Regions from separate parts of the Homo sapiens genome. Here regions 1, 2 and 4 are each linked to region 3. The links are contacts of gene promoters, found by promoter capture Hi-C in blood cells and fetal thymus (Javierre and others, 2016). All regions are on one chromosome and are shown on one strand. Each heading gives the region's core, a stretch centred on a gene start or on the middle of the fragment in contact. The rest is flanking DNA. Distances are from core to core; before and after follow the strand shown. Region 1 overlaps EFCC1 (EF-hand and coiled-coil domain containing 1). Region 2 overlaps CFAP92 (cilia and flagella associated protein 92 (putative)). Region 3 holds the start of H1-10-AS1 (H1-10 antisense RNA 1). Region 4 has its middle 10 kb from the start of GP9.

Region 1 (3,063 bases), core at 401-2,900, 300 kb after region 3:
TCGTTGCTGGCTGGAAGATGAAAGCAATGTGGGTGAAGGAATGCAGAGAGCAACCCCAGCTGACAGCCGGCAAGGAAATAGGGCCTCGGTCCCACGGCCAAAAGGAGCTGGATTCTGCCAACACTGGAACGGGCTTTCCCAGGGGGTCCAGACCCGGCCAAGGGTGCCTTGCTTTCGGCCTTGTGCGAGCTTGTGCAGAGAAGCCCGCCACGCCCGCCTGGACTTCCGGCCTACGGAATTATGAGGTCACAGGTGGGTGTTGTTTCAAGTCACTAAGAGTGTGGTGATCGGCTATGGTTGTGATAGAAACCAAATTCAGCCATCCAAACAACCACACCCCATCTGCTGTCAGCTCAACCCCGACTGTGGCCTTGTGCTCCCAGAGAGACTTGACTGGCCTGAGCCAATCATGAAGCCGCCTTCACGAAGCCTCAATCATGAAGCTTCCTTCAGATTGGTTTAGAAACAGGCATGTGATGCAATTCTGGCCAAAGAGAGGTGAGGGGAAGTCTGCCAGGAGGACCCGTGGATATGGCAGTGATGCCTGAGGCCATGGCAGCTCTCTTGCAACCATGAGGGGTCCTTGCTGACAGGCCAAAATGACAAGCTGAGGAAAACAGAGTGGAAGATGAATCAGGTCCTTGAAAACTTTACTGAACTGCCAAGGAACTGCTCTCCCCTGGACTTCTCACATGAGATAATAAATGTCCTTGTGGTTTAAGCCATTCTGAGTTGGGTTTTATGTTCTTGCAGCATAAAGCATCATCACTGATAAACCACTCACAGCACTGCTTGGGAGTGCAATAAGGTTGTACAGATAAAGTCCTTAGTGCAGTGCCTAACACCCAGTGAGTGCTCAAAAATGTTAGCTTTTGTTCCTTAATCAGTTCCGCCCCCTCCTGCCTCAGGCCCTGTACGAGTCAGGGTTTGACCAGAGAAGTGGGGCCAGTGTGTGGAATCCATCTACAGCCATGCCTGCAGCTGTAGCTCTGTCTCCAGGGCTTTATGACAAGCAGGTGGCCTGTGTGATCACGGGGGCTGGCTAAATGAGTCTGGAATCCACAGAAGGGAAGCTGGCAGGCAGGTGGAGCTCACGGGCACGGCTTATGGGCTTCCCCAGAGGCTCTAGACACGGGCGTGCCCATGAGCTCCACCTGCCTGCCAGCTTCCCTTTTGTGGACTTCAGGCTTGCTTAGCCAGCCCCCACAATCACACAGCCCACTTCCTTGTCATAAAGTCCTTCAGAAAGAGCTACAGCTTGTAGGCCTGGCTGTAGATGGATTCCACACCCTTCTGTCCACAGGTGGAACTTCTCTTTCACACAGAAGCCTGTTTGGCTCTTGAAGCCCACCCAGACCAGCCAGGATAATGTCCCTTACCTAAAGTCAACTGATGACAGACTTTAATCCATATGCAGAATACCTGTACAGCAACTGTAGCTTAGTGTTTGACCGGTTAACTTGCTGTAACCAAGGGAGCGGTCAAGGCATCACATCAAAGCCAGGGGGACGCATCAAAAGCCCATTACACCGCCTGGGCTCAGTTTATTCTGGAATAGATGAAAAATGTCACTGCTGTCTTTTTCTCTCTGCTTCCTATGCTCTGAGCCGCTCAGTGACTCAGCAAGTCTCAGGAAGCTGCAGAGCTGACAGGTCCCTCAGAACCCAGCCAGGCTACTTTGGGCCATCAGGCCACGGCCACGCTGCAGCACCTACTCTGGGAGGTCCTGGAGGTTCGCACACAGCGGCTTCCTTTGCTGCATGGCGTTTCCTGAGTGAAGCAGCCTTACAGGAAACAGAGAGCAACATGTGAAAACAAGAGAACAACAGCAGGAAGAACAGCTTGGGGTAGGGGGGCGGGATGCAGCAGAGGAAGGGCGGAAAATAAATCACAAGGGGTGGGGGGACAGTCCTCAGGGGTCCTCTGTGACTCCTCTCTGGTCCCTACCTGAATTCGGGAACCCCCCCAACTTTACTGAGCAGGGGATGGCGGTGGGAAGGGTGCAACAGGAGTGTGCGAGCAGACACGGACACTCAGCTCTCGGGGGCGCCGTGCAGGGTGTCAGCCTGGGCTGGGTGACTTCTAAGGCCCTGCCAGCCCAAGCTGCTGACTTGGTTCTTTAATTCACCGAAGGATGAAGTATTGAGCCAGCCACTGTCCTTAGCAATGGCATGGCCCCTGACCTCACAGAGCTTACCCCGCAACCTCCCCCCCCGAAGGAGCAGACCTCAATGAAGTCATCACAAAAATACATGAAGGACAGAAAAGTCCAGGGGCCGTGAAAGACGTTAGGAAGAGGCTGTAGATGGAGGTGGGGCCTCCCTAAAGAGTTGGGGTCTGGCAAGACCTGAAGGGTGAATGTGGATTGGTCAGGAGTAGGCTTGGGGATGGTGGAGGGAGCCGTATGCCCAAAGGGCCTGAGAAGGGGAGCCCTGGAGGGTCAGTGTGGCTGCAGGAGAGGATGGGAAAGGGCCTGGTCACTCACAGTCATGATGGTCACCAGAGGAGGTCACAGGAGAGTTGTGAGTGGGCGAGCCCGAGGTGGGATCTGGGTGTTGAAAAGATTAACCTGATGCTGTGTGGTCCGTGGTTCTGATGGAGCTGGGACACCAGTCAGGAGGCTAGGACAGCTGTCCAGGAGTGGTGCTGGGGCTGGGCTGGGTGGTGGGTGCGACTGGAGAGTAGCAGGTGGGTCTGAGCCACTTGGAGCTGAGACTTAGCAGGACTCCGTGTGTACAGGTGAGGAGGGCTCTTCACCTGCTCCTCCTCACTGGCCCCTCCTCACTGGCCCCTCGGCATCCAGGCTGGCTCCAACCTGCTCGTCCCCGTGCAGGCAGTGCAGACAAGCCAAGCTTGTGCCCAGCCCTGTGATTTTGCTATGGGAGTCACCTCCGCCCTGGATCACACAAGTCATGGCCCCACCTTGCCACTCAGGCCTCAATTCCAGGGTCACATCTCAGAGAAGTCTCCTGTGATGGGCTGGTTGTGTCTCCCCAATTCATATGTTGATGTCCAGACCCCCAGAGCTCCTCATAATGTGATCTTATTTGGCGATGGGACCTT
Region 2 (3,379 bases), core at 689-3,188, 330 kb after region 3:
GGAGTCTTGCTCTGTCACCAGGCTGGAGTGCAGTGGTGCGATCTCAGCTCACTGCAACCTCAGCCTTCCGGGTTCAAGCAATTCTCGTGCCTCAGCCTCCCAAGTAGCTGGGATTACAGGTGCACGCCACCACACCCATCTAATTTTTGTATTTTTAGTAGAGACTGGGTTTCACCATGTTGGCCAGAATGGTCTCGAACCCCTGACCTCAGGTCATCCTCCTGCCTCAGCCTCCCAAAGTGCTGGGATTACAGGCATGAGCCACCGCACCCGGCCAAAAAATACATTTTCTCTGATCTGTTGAATCAATCTCTGAATGTAAAGGTGTATCAATTAGCTATTGCCACAAAAATGCGGTGCAACAAACCCAAACAAGCCCCCAAGCTCATGGCTGCACACAGGAACCTGAGGTTCTCCTGGAGGTGCTGGGCGCTGGTCTAGGCTGGGTTCTGCAACAGCTCAGCTCTGCTTCATGCTGCTCCTTTTCCTCCTGGACCAGTGGGCTATCCTAGACCCCTTCTTGTTCTAGAAACACGGACACACAGGAGGGCAAGCCTAGCCCCACAAACACTCCTCAAGTCTTTGAGTGTCTCCCACCTGCTAGCATTTTATTGGCCAAACCAAGTCACATGGTTCCAGCCCAATATGAGGGGAGGAGACAAGTAGTACTTCACATCTTGATAGACCTTGCTTTGTTTTGTTTTCATCTGCTTACTTGAACTAGCCCACCATTATGATTTCAACTTCTCCTGGTATTCTGTCGATGGTGTAAGTTTCTTGTATGGGTTGGAACCCCGAGAGCGCACCAACAGACAACACGAGGCGGTGTGGAGCAACATGCTGTTTCAATGAACGCCTTGGTGCAGGCCGGCTGAGGCCTAAAATGGCGTCAGCCCCAAGTGAGGACGGGGCAAAGGTTTTATAGTCTCCTGTAAACAGGAAGTGTCCTAGTCTGGCGTAACTGCTACGCTGTACCCGGATGGCCTCTTTCTCATCTTCATGTCTTCCGGCCAGGGTAGGTGTATTCCAGCCGGCTCTCCTCCTGCTTCTGCTATTTTGCTGGTGCACGCTGCTGACGTAAGTGACCTTACGCCTTGGGACTAGGCTTGAGAAGGGAGGAGTTATTCATCTCCTTAAGCTTTCAGGCCCTGGGGAGAGTCTTACAGATGGTTGCTTCAGCTATTTTGGAGGCCGACTGGTTGGGTGTATAGTATGTTTAGAACTGCTCCATCTTCTTGGTGAACTGAACTTTTTGTCATTTTATGGTGACCATTCCTGTCTAAAATGATGCCTTTACTCTTGGGTCTATTGCTATAAAGCAAAAGAGCCTGGAAAAAGACATCTGGCAAATACCAACCAAAAGAAAATTGGCACTTGACCTCCTTTAGCCCTCATCTCTTTCACAGCATCTTCTAAGCATGTTTTTGTTTTTGTTGTTGTTGTCCTCTAAAGGCATTTATAAAATGGATCTCTGTGGGGCAAAACTTCATGAGACCTTGTGTGCCTAAGAGTATTTTTTTATCATGCCAATACCTTTAAATGACATACCTTCGGCTCTACATAAAATTCTAGTTTAATTTTTTTTTCCTTCAATACCTGAGTATTTACAGATGAGTACATAAATGTTTCTTTATATAAATTATTTATTTATTTATTTTTGAGACGGAGTCTTGCTCTGTTGCCTAGACTGGAGTTCAGTGGCACAATCTCGGCTCACTGCAACCTCCACCTCCCAGGTTCAAGCAATTCTCCTGTCTCAGCTTCCCAAAGTAGCTGGGACCACAGGCACATGCCACCACGCCCAGCTAATTTTTGTATTTTTAGTAGAGATGGGGTTTCACCATATTGGTCAGGCCGGTCTTGAACTCCTGACCTTAGGTGATCCACCCGCCTTGGCTTTCCAAAACGCTGGAATTACAGACGTGAACCACCACGCCCGACCTATAAATTGTTTATTTCAGAGAAATGAGATCCTACAACTTACTTTAAAATGTTTTGACATGATTTAGATTATCTTTGAGAATATGATCAAGGATACTTGTTTTTGTTTGTTTGTTTTTAGACAGAGTCTCTCTCTGTCACCCAGGCTGGAGTACAGTGGCGCGATCTTGGCTCACTGCAACCTCCGCCTCCTGGGTTCAAGCGATTCTCCTGCCTCAGCCTCCCAAGCAGCTGGAACTACAGGCACATGCCACCATGCCCAGCTAATTTTTGTATTTTTAGTAGAGACGGGGTTTCGCCATGTTGGCCAGGCTGGTCTGGAACTCCTGACCTCAGATCATCCTCCTGCCTGGGCCTCCCAAAGTGCTAGGATTACAGGCATGAGCCACTTTGCCTGGGCAAGGATACTTGTTTTAATTTTGTTGTTTCATTTTAAACACCTATATATTAACAGTATTCCATTATATGTCTCTAATTTATCCTACCCCTTATTGGTGGATATTTGAGTTGTTTCAAATGTTTTTCTGTTGCAATTCTGCGATAGACATTCTTTACGTCCATTTTTGTGCATATATGTGGGCACTTCTGTTGCCTGTATTCCAAGAAGTAAATTTGCTGGATTGAAGGCATGTATTAATAGTTTTTGATAGATATTGTCAACTTCCCCTTTAAAAGGGCTAAATAACTTGCCTTTCTGTCTACAGAAAATGAGAGGCTCTGTTTGTCCACTTGCTGGCCCACCTGGGATTGAATCAGAAAAGGTCTAATGCTACCAGAGACTGGCAGGAGAAGCTTCACTCCAATCTCTGCACAAATGCTAACTATTTTGGTAGCAGAAAAATTAATGCTGCAGCAGTCTCCTGGGGTTAAAAATTTAGACTTTAAAAACTACAGCTTTAAAGACAGTCATGTTTTTATAGAATGATATTTGGATTAAATGTTTATGGAGCTTCTTATGATGTGAAAAGCCCCAACCTAGAGTGTGCAGTTTAAGCTGGAGTGTAAGCAACCAGGGGTGGGGTCAGGGGGCTCCTTGGGCTCTGGACTCTGGCAGAAGCCCATCTGTACCTTCCACATCCTGTCACCCTATCCACCCCGCATTGGGTAGCTTCACCCATGACATTTTTGTGAAGCTGCTTTCTCTGTCTGTCTGGAATATCTGCCAGCTTTGCTCCTCTAAGACTCTGCTAAGGTCCCCCTGGGAGGCCCACCCCACCCTCCCCATGCAGAGTTTTCTCCTCCACCTTCGTTCTTCACAACCTTGTTCCTGCTGCTATTATTGCACAAATCACATTGTACTGTGATTTTTTTTTTTTTTTTTTTTTACCTGCTTCTTAGGGCCAGGAGGGACCAGGGTAAGGCAAGTATGGCGTCTCTCCTAATAACATCTGGCCTGGCCATGTGATTTCACTTTAACTCTATCACCTTTTTAACCCTA
Region 3 (3,119 bases), core at 192-2,691:
ATTCCCTTGACAGGGTGACAAAATGGGGGGCGTGTGTGTGTGTGAAAGGGGTGAGCTGGAGAAGAGGGGAGGTGCTGCTAGCCCTCACCCAGAGAAGCCTGCTTGGGCCCAAGGCCACAAATGCACCAACCCACCCCCTTTTCAGGGCCTTTTACTCTGTCCACCTGTAAATGTTCCTGTCTCTCACTCTGGGAACCCCAATTCGCCAGCGTCCTGTCCCCCCTCACCCCTCCATCGCTTTTCTATGCTGGGCCTCTGGAGACTGTCTCCTGCCTGCAACCCTGCCACCCCCCAGCCCCAGCCCCACTCCTGTGCCCTACATCACCTACCCCCAAAGGGATCCCCTCTCCTACCCGAGCATCTTACCCTGGCCTCAGCTTCCCCAAGTGGAGGCTGCAACGGCTTCAACAAAAACTGTCCTGTGCCTTCTCTGCACCCCCAATACTGGAATCAGCAGAGATCGGGCCGCCAGCCTTGCACAAGCCCCCCCGGGGAGGGTGGGGCCCGGGACCCTCTCCAGGACATGGTCTCCTTTGCTGTGTTCCCGCCATCATTTCCCTGTGCACGGGAGAGGGGGAGGGGTGCACCCAGGAACTAAGAGCGAATCCCTTCCCCATCCTCTCACAGGAATTCCTCTGGGTGTCACAGCCTCACCCCCGCCCACCCTGTCCCACCCTGGAGCCCCCATTTGGCTTTGGGGGGACCGGCGGCAGCTACTTGTGGATTACAAAATGAGGCCCTGGGAACATCAGCGGCAACAGGGTGGGGGGAGCGGCGAGGCAGTGTCCCTAGAGAGGTCCTGCCGTAGTCCTCCATTCCCCGGGTTGTGCCTAGGCTCCCAGAGGCACAACCAGAACCCGGGGTGCAGCTGGAGAGTGCCTCCCATCCGCCATCCCCTTTGGATGGGGCGGAAAACCCCCGAGGATGTCCTAGCGCAGTTCACGTTGCCCCAGCCGACCACGTGAGGGCGCGCCCTGTGTTAGTTTGGACAAATTAAAGCTCCTCTTGCGGGCAGGCCTGGAGCCCCCCGGGCCGGGACAAGGCTCGGGTGCCCGTGGCGTTCTCTGGGTTGCCGGCCGCCAAGCTCCCGGCCGTGGGGCCTCCTCTGGGGCCCGCGCTATTGGCCTCCAAACGAGGTGCCCCCCTCCTCTCGCGCTCCCGCAGCCTAGGGTGCACCTCTCCGTTCGCCTTTGCTGAGCCCTTCCAGGACGCAAGTCGCCTCTCCACTGCGCCGGGAGCTCAGGCCCTGTCCGGGGCGCCCCGCTGCGGGCGCGGCGGCGCTGGAGAGGCGCGGTCCGAGAAGCCAGCGGCCGGAGAAGGGGCTCCAAGAAGCACAAGTTGGCGCTGGCCCCGGACCAGGCTGTTGTTGTTCTCAACGTGGTCCGCCATGAAGCTATAAAAAGCCGAGAGAAGCGCCCTCCCGCCAGAGCGCAGCGCGCACGCCCAGCGAGTTCCAGAGGCGCCAGTGGAAGCTGCGGCGGCGGTGTCTCGCGTTCGGCGGGATTTCTCTTCGCTCCGGCTCGGCCTAGGTCTACGTCCCCAGCTCCAGCCGCCGGCTCGGACTCGGTCTCTGACCCCCAACTCGGTCCCCTAGTCCGGCCCCGGCTCCGGGCCCCCCAACCCTCGCTCCGGCCCGGCCCGGCCCCCACCCCAGCCCTGCCGCCCGGCCCCAGGCCCGGCCGCGGCCGCTCCCGCCTGGAGCCGCCGCGCGCCCCCAGCCCCCCTGCACCCCCTCGGCCCCTCGCCTTCCTCTTCCCGGCGCGGCCCCCCGGCTTCCGCGCGCCGCCCGCCACCAATCCTCTTGCTACCATGTCCGTGGAGCTCGAGGAGGCCCTGCCAGTGACGACCGCCGAGGGAATGGCCAAGAAGGTGACCAAGGCTGGCGGCTCGGCGGCGTTGTCCCCATCTAAGAAGAGGAAGAATAGCAAGAAGAAGAACCAGCCGGGCAAGTACAGCCAGCTGGTGGTGGAGACCATCCGTAGGCTGGGCGAGCGCAACGGCTCGTCGCTGGCCAAGATCTACACCGAGGCCAAGAAGGTTCCGTGGTTCGACCAGCAGAATGGGCGCACCTACCTCAAGTACTCGATCAAGGCGCTGGTGCAGAACGACACGCTTCTGCAGGTGAAGGGCACCGGCGCCAACGGTTCCTTCAAGCTCAACCGCAAGAAGCTGGAGGGCGGCGGGGAGCGGCGCGGAGCCCCGGCGGCCGCCACCGCCCCGGCCCCCACCGCGCACAAAGCGAAGAAGGCAGCCCCGGGCGCGGCCGGCTCCCGGCGCGCGGACAAGAAGCCCGCCAGGGGCCAGAAGCCGGAGCAGCGCTCGCACAAGAAGGGCGCTGGCGCCAAGAAGGACAAAGGCGGCAAGGCCAAGAAGACGGCGGCCGCCGGGGGCAAGAAGGTGAAGAAGGCGGCCAAGCCCAGCGTCCCCAAAGTGCCCAAGGGCCGCAAGTGAGCGTGTCGGCCGGTCAGAGCGGCCGGCGTGGGCTTTTCGGTGTTTTTGTTTTTCTACCCCAAGTGACGTAGATTTTGTACGGCTCACGCCGGCCGGGGCCGCGAGGCCTGGTCTGAGCCTCAGGGAGGGGCCCCGGGTCCTCTCAGTCTTTCCCCTCCCCCAACGATGTAGCGTTTTTCGTTGTTTGCTTTAGGTTTTTGAAACAGCCCCGGCGACGCCTCTATTGGCTCTCGGCCTTGGCAACGGCCGTCGTCATGGTTACTGGCCCCTAGGCGCCGATGGCCGAGGCCGCGCCTGCCCACCGGGCGGGGTCGCTGGTTGGCCGGGCCCAGGCGCGCGGGGACGCGGAGGCCGCGCATCCTTTCCCAGCTCCCCACCCTCCTTGCCTTTGGGTGCGCGACAAACAATCGCTCCGGGCTCAGGGCTGCGCGGCTCTTCCCTTCATTCCATGGGCCTTTTTTTGGGCACAATAAAGCGTTTAAACCTTTCAGCCTCTCTCGTTTAATCTGAGTGGAATAGGGATGGGCGCCTTCGGCACGCGGGGTTGGATGGCGGGCCCCTCGGGTCCTTATACCCCAGATCTGTTGGCCAGGGTAGGCCTGGAGCCAGGGGCCTTCAGCAAGGGGTGGGAATTGCTGGCTTGGGACGAACTTAAAGTACCTGGGACA
Region 4 (3,215 bases), core at 508-3,007, 270 kb after region 3:
ACTCTCCGTGTGGCTCTCTGCACAGGGCAGCTATCTTTCCCCCAAGCAAGGGATCTGATGGAGAGCAAGGAGGGAGCTGCCAGGCCTCTTATGACCTGGTCTCAGAAGCTGCACCAGCAACTCTGCCACACTCTGTTTATTGGTGAGTCATAAAGTCTATCTAGCTCACTTTCAAAGGGAAAAGTGTTAATGAGCCTTTACGATTTTTTTTTAAGAGACAAGGTTTTGCTCTGTTGCCCACACTGGAGTGCAGTGGTGCAATCATGGCTCACTGTAATCTTGAACTCCTGGGCTCACATGTAGGCTTCCCATCTTGAAGGAGGAGACTTTGTGCATATATCTTAACAGGAAATTTTCAAATTCAAGTAACTGCAAGGCTTCTATCAGAAAATAAAGCTCTAACCTTTACGGAGAGGCATCAATCAAGGGATTAATTAGTTACTAGTAACTAGTAGTCCCTAGGACCCTCAAGTTACAGGAACCTTTTTTTTTTTTTTTTTTTGAGGCAGAGTCTCACTCTGTCACCCAGGCTGGAGTGCAGTGGTGGGATTTTCGCTTACTGCAGCCTCTGTGTTCTGGGTTCAAGTGATTCTCATGCCTCAGCGTCTCAGCCAGCTGGGACTACAGGTGTGCACCATCACACCCAGCTAATTTTTGTAGTTTTAGTAGAGACAGGGTTTCGACATATTGGCCAGGCTGGTCTCGAACTCCTGGCCTCAAGTGATCTGTCTACCTTGGCCTCCTGAAGTGCTGGGATTATAGGCGTGAGCCACCGCTCCCAGCCAGGAACCTTTTAGGTCAGAGTCGTGGCTATTTCTTGGACCCAAATATCAGGGGAGGTTCTTTTTTTGGTGAAGCTTTCTCAGGAATTGTTGGCTTACTCTGTTTCTGGCCAAAGGAGACCCCATGTTTCCCATGGTTGCAGCTCCCTGGGTGCCACCGTTTTGCTCCCTCGAGACATCGTCTCAGACTTCAGCTCAGTGGACAAAGGCATACCTCCATCTTTCTATGAAATTGCACCCTCTTACCCCCTCTCTTTCCGTGGCCTCAGGGCTTGGCACTCAGTACAGGCCCTGCCTGCTGATCTTGGTGCAGCCTTGTCGAGTGGTTTCGAGTGTGGGCTTGGGTGACCCGGGCTGAGCTCTGAGTCCTGGCTCTGCTATTGTGCTGTGTGGCTGTGAGCACGAGTCCTCATCAGTGTCCCCAGCAGTAAAACGTGGATGTGGGAGAAGCCCCATGCCTGGTCTCTGTGAATCACAAATGTTGACGCTGCCTTTGGTCTCCTCATCTGGGTTTTCCTCCAGGGAAGCCCCCTGGTCCTCTGAGGCCCTCATGAACTCTGAGGCTCATGCTGAGCTGACAGCAGCAGGCCGGCTGTGGGCCAGGGCAGGGCATCAGGCAGGTGCTTAGGTCACACCCAACACCAAGGTGCTGAAATTACAGAAGTCTCAGCCTCTCCCCACTGGGCAAAAGGGAAGGCCATCCAGGCTGCAAACCAGTGACGTTCAGAGGGTCCAGGATGCCCCAACACTAGGCTGACTCTGTGCAGAGATAGCTAAGAGGCTGCCTCTATCCATTCTCTAGTTCTTTCTTTTTTTCTTTTTAAATAGGCTTTATTTTGGGTTCACAGCAAAAATTGAGTGGAAAGTCAGTTCCTATACACGCCCTGCCCCCCAACATGCACAGCCTTCCATATCAGTAACATCCCCAGTAGAGTGGGGCATATGTTATTACTGATGAAACTACAAGGACATGCCATTATTGCCCAATGTCCGTAGTTTCTGAGGGCCCACTCTTGGAGTCAGACATTCTATGGGTCGAGACAAATGTCTAATGACACATATCTACCATTATGGTATCATACAGAATAGTGTTGTTGCCCTGAAAAATCTTCTGGGCCCCCTTGTTCATCCTTCCCCATCTCCTAATCCCTGGCAACCACTGATCCTTTTACTGTCTCCATAGTTTTGCCTTTTCCAGAATGTCATACAGTTAGGATCATATAATATTTAGCCTTTAAAGATTAAATTCTTTCACTTAGTAATATGCATTTAAGGTTCCTACATGTCTTTTCATGGCTTGGTAGCTCATTTCTTTTTTTTTTTTTTTGAGATGGAGTTTTGCTCTGTCGCCCAGGCTGGTGTGAAGTGATGTGATCTTGGCTCACTGCAACCTCCACCTGCCCCTCCCCCTGCCCTGCTCTGAGTTCAAGCGATTCTCCTGCCTCAGCCTCCCGAGTAGCTGGGATTATAGGTCCCCACCACCATGCCTGGCTAATTTTTGTATTTTTAGTAGAGACGGGGTTTCACCATGTTGGCGAGGCTGGTCTCGAACTCCTGACCTCAGGTCATCCACTCGCCTCAGCCTCCCAAAGTGCTGAGATTATAGGCGTGAGCCACTGTGCCTGGCCTTGGGTTAATTTTTCCTAAGAGTGTAAGGTCTATATCTAAATTTTTTTTTCCATTTGGATGTCCAGTTGTTCTAGCATCATTCGTTGAAAATAATTTTTCTCCATTATATTTCCTTTGTTCCTTTGTAAAAACATCAGTTGACTATGGGTATACTTCTGGGCTCTCTATTCTGTTCCATTGATCTATTTGTCTGTTCTTTTACCAATACCACACTGTCTTGATTACTGTAGATTTAGCATAAGCTTTGAGGTTGGGTCATGTCAGTCCTCCAACTTTGTTCTCCTCCTTAAATATTGTGTTGGCTATTTTGGGTCTTTTGCTTCTCCATATAAACTTTAGAATCAGTTTGTTAATATCCACAAAGTAACTTGCTGGAATTTCGATCAGGATAGCATTTGGTCTGTAGATCAAGCTGGGAAGAACTGAGATCTTGACAATATTGAGTCTTCTTGCTCTTAAACACGGAATCTCTCTCCATCTATTTCGTTCTTTGATTTCTTTCATAACAGTTTTGTAGCTTTCCTCACATAGAGCTTATACATATATTTTAAAATATTTATACTTAAGTATTTTGTATTTGGGGGTGTTAATGTAAATGGTATTGTATTTTGAATTTCAAATTCCACTTGTTCATTGTTGGTATATAGAAAAGTGATTGGCTTGGTTGGGCGCAGTGGCTCACGCGTGTAATCCCAGCACTTTGGAAGGCCAAGGCGGGAGGATCATGAGGTCAGAAGATCGAGACCATCCTGGCTAACATCTCTATTAAAAATACAAAAAAAAAAAAATTAGCCGGGCGTGGTG

Evidence for each region. The method cuts DNA at HindIII sites, captures the fragments that hold promoters and counts their contacts. A CHiCAGO score of 5 or more calls a contact.
Region 1: a contact is called between a fragment that was not itself captured here and the fragment with the promoter of H1-10-AS1 in region 3, in 2 of 17 cell types (total B cells and naive B cells). The highest score is 8.0, in total B cells.
Region 2: a contact is called between a fragment that was not itself captured here and the fragment with the promoter of H1-10-AS1 in region 3, in 1 of 17 cell types (total B cells). The highest score is 7.0, in total B cells.
Region 4: a fragment that was not itself captured here is called in contact with the fragment with the promoter of H1-10-AS1 in region 3 in 2 of 17 cell types (naive B cells and total B cells); the score reaches 6.1 in naive B cells.

Annotation. Positions count from the first base shown.
Region 1 is chr3:129,014,572-129,017,634 of GRCh38, reverse strand. All of the region lies in intron 2 of EFCC1 (EF-hand and coiled-coil domain containing 1), which reads right to left. It also overlaps a transcript of CFAP92 not described here. Among named protein-coding and RNA genes, the nearest start is that of EFCC1, 15 kb to the right of the region's middle. RefSeq lists a silencer at 369-528 and enhancers at 130-631, 1,309-1,358, 1,379-1,488, 1,202-1,709. The HindIII fragment of the contact is 2,409 bases long and covers 446-2,854 here.
Region 2 is chr3:128,989,177-128,992,555 of GRCh38, reverse strand. The region is part of intron 2 of CFAP92 (cilia and flagella associated protein 92 (putative)); the gene reads left to right. Among named protein-coding and RNA genes, the nearest start is that of CFAP92, 3.2 kb to the left of the region's middle. The HindIII fragment of the contact is 1,595 bases long and covers 1,141-2,735 here.
Region 3 is chr3:129,314,593-129,317,711 of GRCh38, reverse strand. It overlaps H1-10-AS1 (H1-10 antisense RNA 1), which reads right to left and starts at 1,441. Exons shown (of 5, transcript NR_026991.1): 1 at 367-1,441. H1-10 (H1.10 linker histone) reads left to right here and starts at 1,426. Exons shown (of 1, transcript NM_006026.4): 1 at 1,426-2,941. The coding sequence starts at 1,810. The coding sequence ends at 2,451. RefSeq lists silencers at 948-1,287, 2,088-2,217, 2,598-2,887. The HindIII fragment of the contact is 12,756 bases long and covers 1-3,119 here.
Region 4 is chr3:129,048,899-129,052,113 of GRCh38, reverse strand. No RefSeq gene overlaps it. Among named protein-coding and RNA genes, the nearest start is that of GP9, 10 kb to the left of the region's middle. The HindIII fragment of the contact is 1,796 bases long and covers 860-2,655 here.